Linked DNA regions of Homo sapiens: region 1 is linked to region 2. The links are contacts of gene promoters, found by promoter capture Hi-C in blood cells and fetal thymus (Javierre and others, 2016). All regions are on one chromosome and are shown on one strand. Each heading gives the region's core, a stretch centred on a gene start or on the middle of the fragment in contact. The rest is flanking DNA. Distances are from core to core; before and after follow the strand shown.

What was found. The method cuts DNA at HindIII sites, captures the fragments that hold promoters and counts their contacts. A CHiCAGO score of 5 or more calls a contact.
Region 1: a fragment that was not itself captured here is called in contact with the fragment with the promoter of CTHRC1 in region 2 in 1 of 17 cell types (endothelial precursors); the score reaches 5.9 in endothelial precursors.

The regions. Positions count from the first base shown.
Region 1 is chr8:103,257,074-103,259,773 of GRCh38, forward strand. The region is part of intron 1 of LOC105369147 (a long non-coding RNA gene); the gene reads right to left. Among named protein-coding and RNA genes, the nearest start is that of FZD6, 40 kb to the right of the region's middle. The HindIII fragment of the contact is 1,528 bases long and covers 489-2,016 here.
Region 2 is chr8:103,370,208-103,372,907 of GRCh38, forward strand. CTHRC1 (collagen triple helix repeat containing 1) reads left to right here and starts at 1,331. Exons shown (of 4, transcript NM_138455.4): 1 at 1,331-1,599. The coding sequence starts at 1,450. RefSeq lists enhancers at 991-1,785, 1,786-2,579 and a silencer at 1,215-1,334. The HindIII fragment of the contact is 4,990 bases long and covers 1-2,700 here.

The DNA.
Region 1 (2,700 bases), core at 3-2,502, 110 kb before region 2:
TTAGAAGGCACTTTATATCCAACAAATCTTCAAGTCACAGGGTTTGTAAGAGGAAAAGAGTGGTTAAGAATATAATGACTAGTTTCTACTCTTGAATATTTCCAATCTTTCCTCAACACAGCAGCAGGCCCTTTGTGAGATTTAAACCCAAACACGGCTCTCTCTGCTGAGAATCCCTCAATGGTTTCCCATTGCGTTCAGAATAAACACAAGCCCCGTTACAAGGCCTACAATAACAGGCCGCTCATCTAGGGTGTTATGTGAGTTAATAAATGTAAAATTCTTAGAAGTGTGCCTGGCACACAGCAAGTGCTCAGTGAATTCTAGCTGTCCTTCTCCTTCCTTCTCGCCCTTTCCCTCCTCCTCCATGCTTACCTGGCAATGCTTCCCATGACCTCTCCCTTGCCTCACTCTGCTGTCAGCCACCTTCTCCCTCCTCCAGTATGCTGCATTCACACTGGTCATCCTCCAGATTCTTGAACACATCAAGCTTTTGCCTATTTCAGAATCCTTCCCCAAGCGGTTCCTTCCCTGTCATCCAGGTGGCCACTTCTCATCTTTTAGGCCTAAATGGCTCCTCCTCAGAAGAACTTCCTTTTCTGCCTAATCTAAATTGGTCCCCCCTATTATTTTCCCACAGACTAAGTTCTTTTCTTTTAGTGTCCTAATTACAACTTGTAATTGATACTTGTTTGTTTTAAATGTTCAGTGTCATTCTTTCCCATCAGCCCTTAAACTCTCTCTGTTAGGAAAGAGGACAGATGTTTTGTTTGCTAGTTATTTAACACTGTGTTTGCCATCTAGAGGAAACTCAATTAGTATGGAAGGAGAAAAAGAAAAATTATTTAAAAGTAAATTCAATATTTATTAAATGTTTACCATGTGGCTAGGCATTCTACTAAATACTTAGAATGTATTAGCTCCTCTAATCTTTCAAATATCTATGAGCTATGTTATTATCTCTTTTTCACATTTGTAAAAAGTGGAACTCAAAGAATTCATGTAAGTCATACCGGTAATAAGTGTCAGAGCTGAGATTTGAACTGAGGTCTTTGTAGCTCCAAATCATTTGCTTTTCCTCTCATACCAAGTTGCTTCCAGTAACAAGGGAGTGGAAGTATGTGAAATTACACAATATGATAAATAGCTCCTTCTGCCTCATTTATGGCATGTAAAATTTCCCTGAGTAAGTGGTTCAGTTGTCCTTCTGGAATTGAAACATCAATGAGACAATTTTGCTGCCATGTAATGAGCTTTTCCCCGGGCATGTGCTATATCTTTTATCAGCCCAAGTAATACTTCAGGGCTTGTGTACTTACCATGTATTAATTGTATGACTTTAAAATATTGAGTAGTGCTCCCTCAAGGGCATGCTCCCTCAAGGGCTGTGTTTTCTGTCAGGTGCCATTGTGGACTTGGGTTTGTTAAATGAGAAAGTGATCAATTTCCAGAGCAACCAGAAGAATACCCTGCAGAGTGAGCTCAATGGAAAGAAAGCAATCAAGTGTTAAGGGGTAAGGGGAAATAATGGCAAGAGGTTGGGGATGGCGGGGAGATCTATTGGTTCCAAATCAGATGCGCTCAGTCTTAAAATCAGTAACATCTCAAGTTATACCAGTGATTACTCCCAGACTAAAGGCTCTTTGACTCCCATTTCATTTCCCAAATAGTGAGATGTTCTTGAATATCAAATTGAAAATTAGAAAGCCAAGAAAACAAGAGGGAAATAATAATATTTAACATTTACTATGCTAGGTCTTTTACATGAATTAACTTATTTTGTCCTCAAAAACCCTCATGGTAGACACTAATATTATTCCCAATAAACAGATGAGTAAGCTGAGGCACAGAAAGGTAAAATAAGTTGCAGTGTGGTCTTACTAAAAATTGTATTGGATGATGAAATCAGCAAGAATGATGGAATAAGAACCATTGAATATCATCTCCTCTACAAAAGCAACAAAAACACTAGAAAATATTATGTCAACTTCTTCAGAATCCTGGATATTAAACAAAAGCTTGCAACAATTCAGGAAGCATTAATTCAAGAAAAATGACTGAATCTTAACAAATTTTTTTTGACATTTTAACTTGCTTTGTTTCTATGCCTCTCTCCCACCTCTGTGGTAGCCTTGAAAACCAATAGCCCACTGTTACTGTGAAAACCAGAAGCTTCTGGGGGACACACATTAGGGTTGGAGTTCTTTCAAAGCCTCATTTTCAGAGAATTGTCATTGCTTGACCTGTCTGCGAATTCCCTGGAAAACCCCACTTGCAGAGTTTGTCTTTATCTGACCTACTAGAGCTTGCCCAGTGACAACATTTTCACCAAGAGTGTTTATTGAAAACAATCAGTGGCAGTTATATACAATGAAACAGCTATATGAAGCAGCAATAACAATTTGGGTAAGCAAAAAATCGGACCAAAAAAACTTAGAAAAATCTGGGGAATGACATTCCATAGGGGGCTTTGACAAGTTCCAACATATTCCTGGAAATCTGGAAGTCCATGCATGTGTATAGAGCTGTGTACAGGCCCAGGAAATACTTAAGAAAGTCCTAAGCTCATTTCTCTGGCTGACCTTGAGGCTCTGCACAAGCAAGAAGTAGAAATTTGGCTGGGTATAGTGGCTCACGCCTAGAATCCCAGCACTTTGGGAAGTTGAGGCAGGAGTATTGCTTGAAGCCAGGAGTTCAAGA
Region 2 (2,700 bases), core at 81-2,580:
CCATCAGAGGCAAAGAGTACTCAAAAGTGAACTTCTACCATTTCCACTGGATATTGATTAACTTCCCTGAGCCTCAGTTTCCTCATTCGTTTATGAGAGTAGCCCAGGAGGCATCTACCCCTCCCAACCCGCCAGGATTGCTGAGAGGACAGAGTACGCGTGCAAGGTTTTGCAATGTGCCAGAGCTTAGTAAGTGTTAGCACTTATGAAAACAGCGTTTATATATCATTTGGGTCATGGGACTCTTGGAAAACCTGATGATACCTATGGTTTCTTCCTGCCTCCGCCCCACCCCCACCTTCCAGCCTCCAAAAATGTCACCTCCAAAAAACAAATAAGGCAGGGCGCGGTGGCTCACGCCTGTAATCCCAGCACTTTGGGAGGCCGAGGCGGGCGGATCACAAGGTCAGGAGATCTAGACTATCCTGGCTAACACGGTGAAACCCCGTCTCTACTAAAAATATAAAAAATTAGCCGGGGCCGGGCGCGGTGGCTCACGCCTGTAATCCCAGCACTTTGGGAGGCCGAGGCGGGTGGATCACGAGGTCAGGAGATCGAGACCATCCTGGCTAACACGGTGAAACCCCGTCTCTACTAAAAATACAAAAAATTAGCCGGGCGTGATGGCGGGCGCCTGTAGTCCCAGCTACTCGGGAGGCTGAGGCAGGAGAATGGCGTGAACCCGGGAAGCGGAGCTTGCAGTGAGCCGAGATCGCGCCACTGCACTCCAGCCTGGGCGACAGAGCGAGACTCCGTCTCAAAAAAAAAAAAAAAAAAAAAAAAAAAAAAATTAGCCGGGCGTGGTGGCGGGTGCCTGCAGTCCCAGCTGCTCTGGAGGCTGAGGCAGGAGAATGGCGTGAACCCGGGAGGCGGAGCTTGCAGTGAGCCTAGATGGCGCCACTGCACTCCAGCCTGGGCGACAGAGCGAGACTCTGTCTCAAAAACAAACAAACAAACAAAAAACAAATAAGACTCGCCGACCCATGCCATAGATTGACGACCCTTGAAGGTGGCTCGTGTACCCAGGTTAAGCCACGTGTCTCTAAAATGTTCATTTAGGCGGCGCTGTGTTACCTGCGGGAATCCCCGACCTGCGGCTCCTGACCACGGGCCACCCCGCCCAGACCCTGCAGGCGGGCTCTCCACGAGGGTCTGCGCAGCCCCGCGGGGGTCCTGACAGGCCGAGCGACTGCAGTAGGAGGGGGCGGGCCCGGCTCTCGGTCCGCCCCCACGCCGGGCTCGGGGTGGGGGCTCGGGGCCTATTACGGGATGGAAGCTCCGGGTGTCGCGGGGGCGGGAGGAATTAAGGGAGGGAGAGAGGCGCGCGGGTGAAAGGCGCATTGATGCAGCCTGCGGCGGCCTCGGAGCGCGGCGGAGCCAGACGCTGACCACGTTCCTCTCCTCGGTCTCCTCCGCCTCCAGCTCCGCGCTGCCCGGCAGCCGGGAGCCATGCGACCCCAGGGCCCCGCCGCCTCCCCGCAGCGGCTCCGCGGCCTCCTGCTGCTCCTGCTGCTGCAGCTGCCCGCGCCGTCGAGCGCCTCTGAGATCCCCAAGGGGAAGCAAAAGGCGCAGCTCCGGCAGAGGGAGGTGGTGGACCTGGTGAGTCCGAGGGAGCCGAGCCGGGACCGCCGCGCTGGTGGAGGGGACCTGGCCGCGCGCCCCACGGGCAGGGCGTCAGTCTGGCTGTTGGGGGTGTCTGTCTGTACAGCTGTGTGTCGTGTGTCTTGCTGCGCCGGGGTGTCATGCTTTTTATTTACAGGTGAAGAAGGACCTGGTTATGCGTGCAGTGAGTCTTGGAACTCAGAGGGGAGACCAAAATGGGAGGCCATCGTGGAGCGGACATGCGATATGGGCCCGGTGGGTCTCCCCGAAGTACAGGGAGTCCCCCAATAATTTCTGGCCCCAGGGGGACCCCTTGGGAAGGGTGGGAGGGATAGGGCGGCAGTGAGAGTAGGATGAGGAGCTTGGGTACGTCCGAAGTGGACCTGGGAAAAACCCTGGCCTCGCTGATCACATGGACCTGGGCCTGGGCCAGGGCGGTGCAACGTGTCCTTTGTTGGGGCTGGTGGCCACGTCTGCCTGCGAGAGAGAATAACAACCCCCACAAAGCATCCGTCCAACTCTTTGTAACTTGAAGACTATGAGTCACGTTGGGTCATCTTCCTAGGGAGTATGGGCTGCAATTTACTTTGTTGGACAACCACAGCTGGGGCTAGGAATGGTTCAGAAGGTTTAAGGCCGGAAAGGGAAATGAAGGGGCCCGGCGCTAACCCTCTAAGGACCTGTTTTGCTTCTGTTTAAACCAAATGGGCAGTCTGTCATTACACACACCCTGGGTCTTCATATGTGGCCGCCAGGTAGGAGCATCACAGTCAAGCTACGGGAGAAAACAGTTTCCAGGAAACTGGAAATGAACGGCCCGAGTGCTTTCCAGGGGCTCATCTGTGGGAAGGTATGTTTGCTTAAAATCCTTCCCTCTAAAAATCAACAAACCCAGTGGAGGGCGGAGAGGTTCTCTGGCCTGTGGTATGAGGGAGCCTTTCAGAGCTACCGTAGTCCTTGGCATATTATAAACTTCAGTCTCACTTGCAGACAAACATGATTTACAGGCATTGCAAGACATAAGTTGGGGCATTTTTTTTTAATTAAAAAGAAAGTTTTGAATTTGTTAAGCTGCCATTTTAAACTGAGCTAATATAC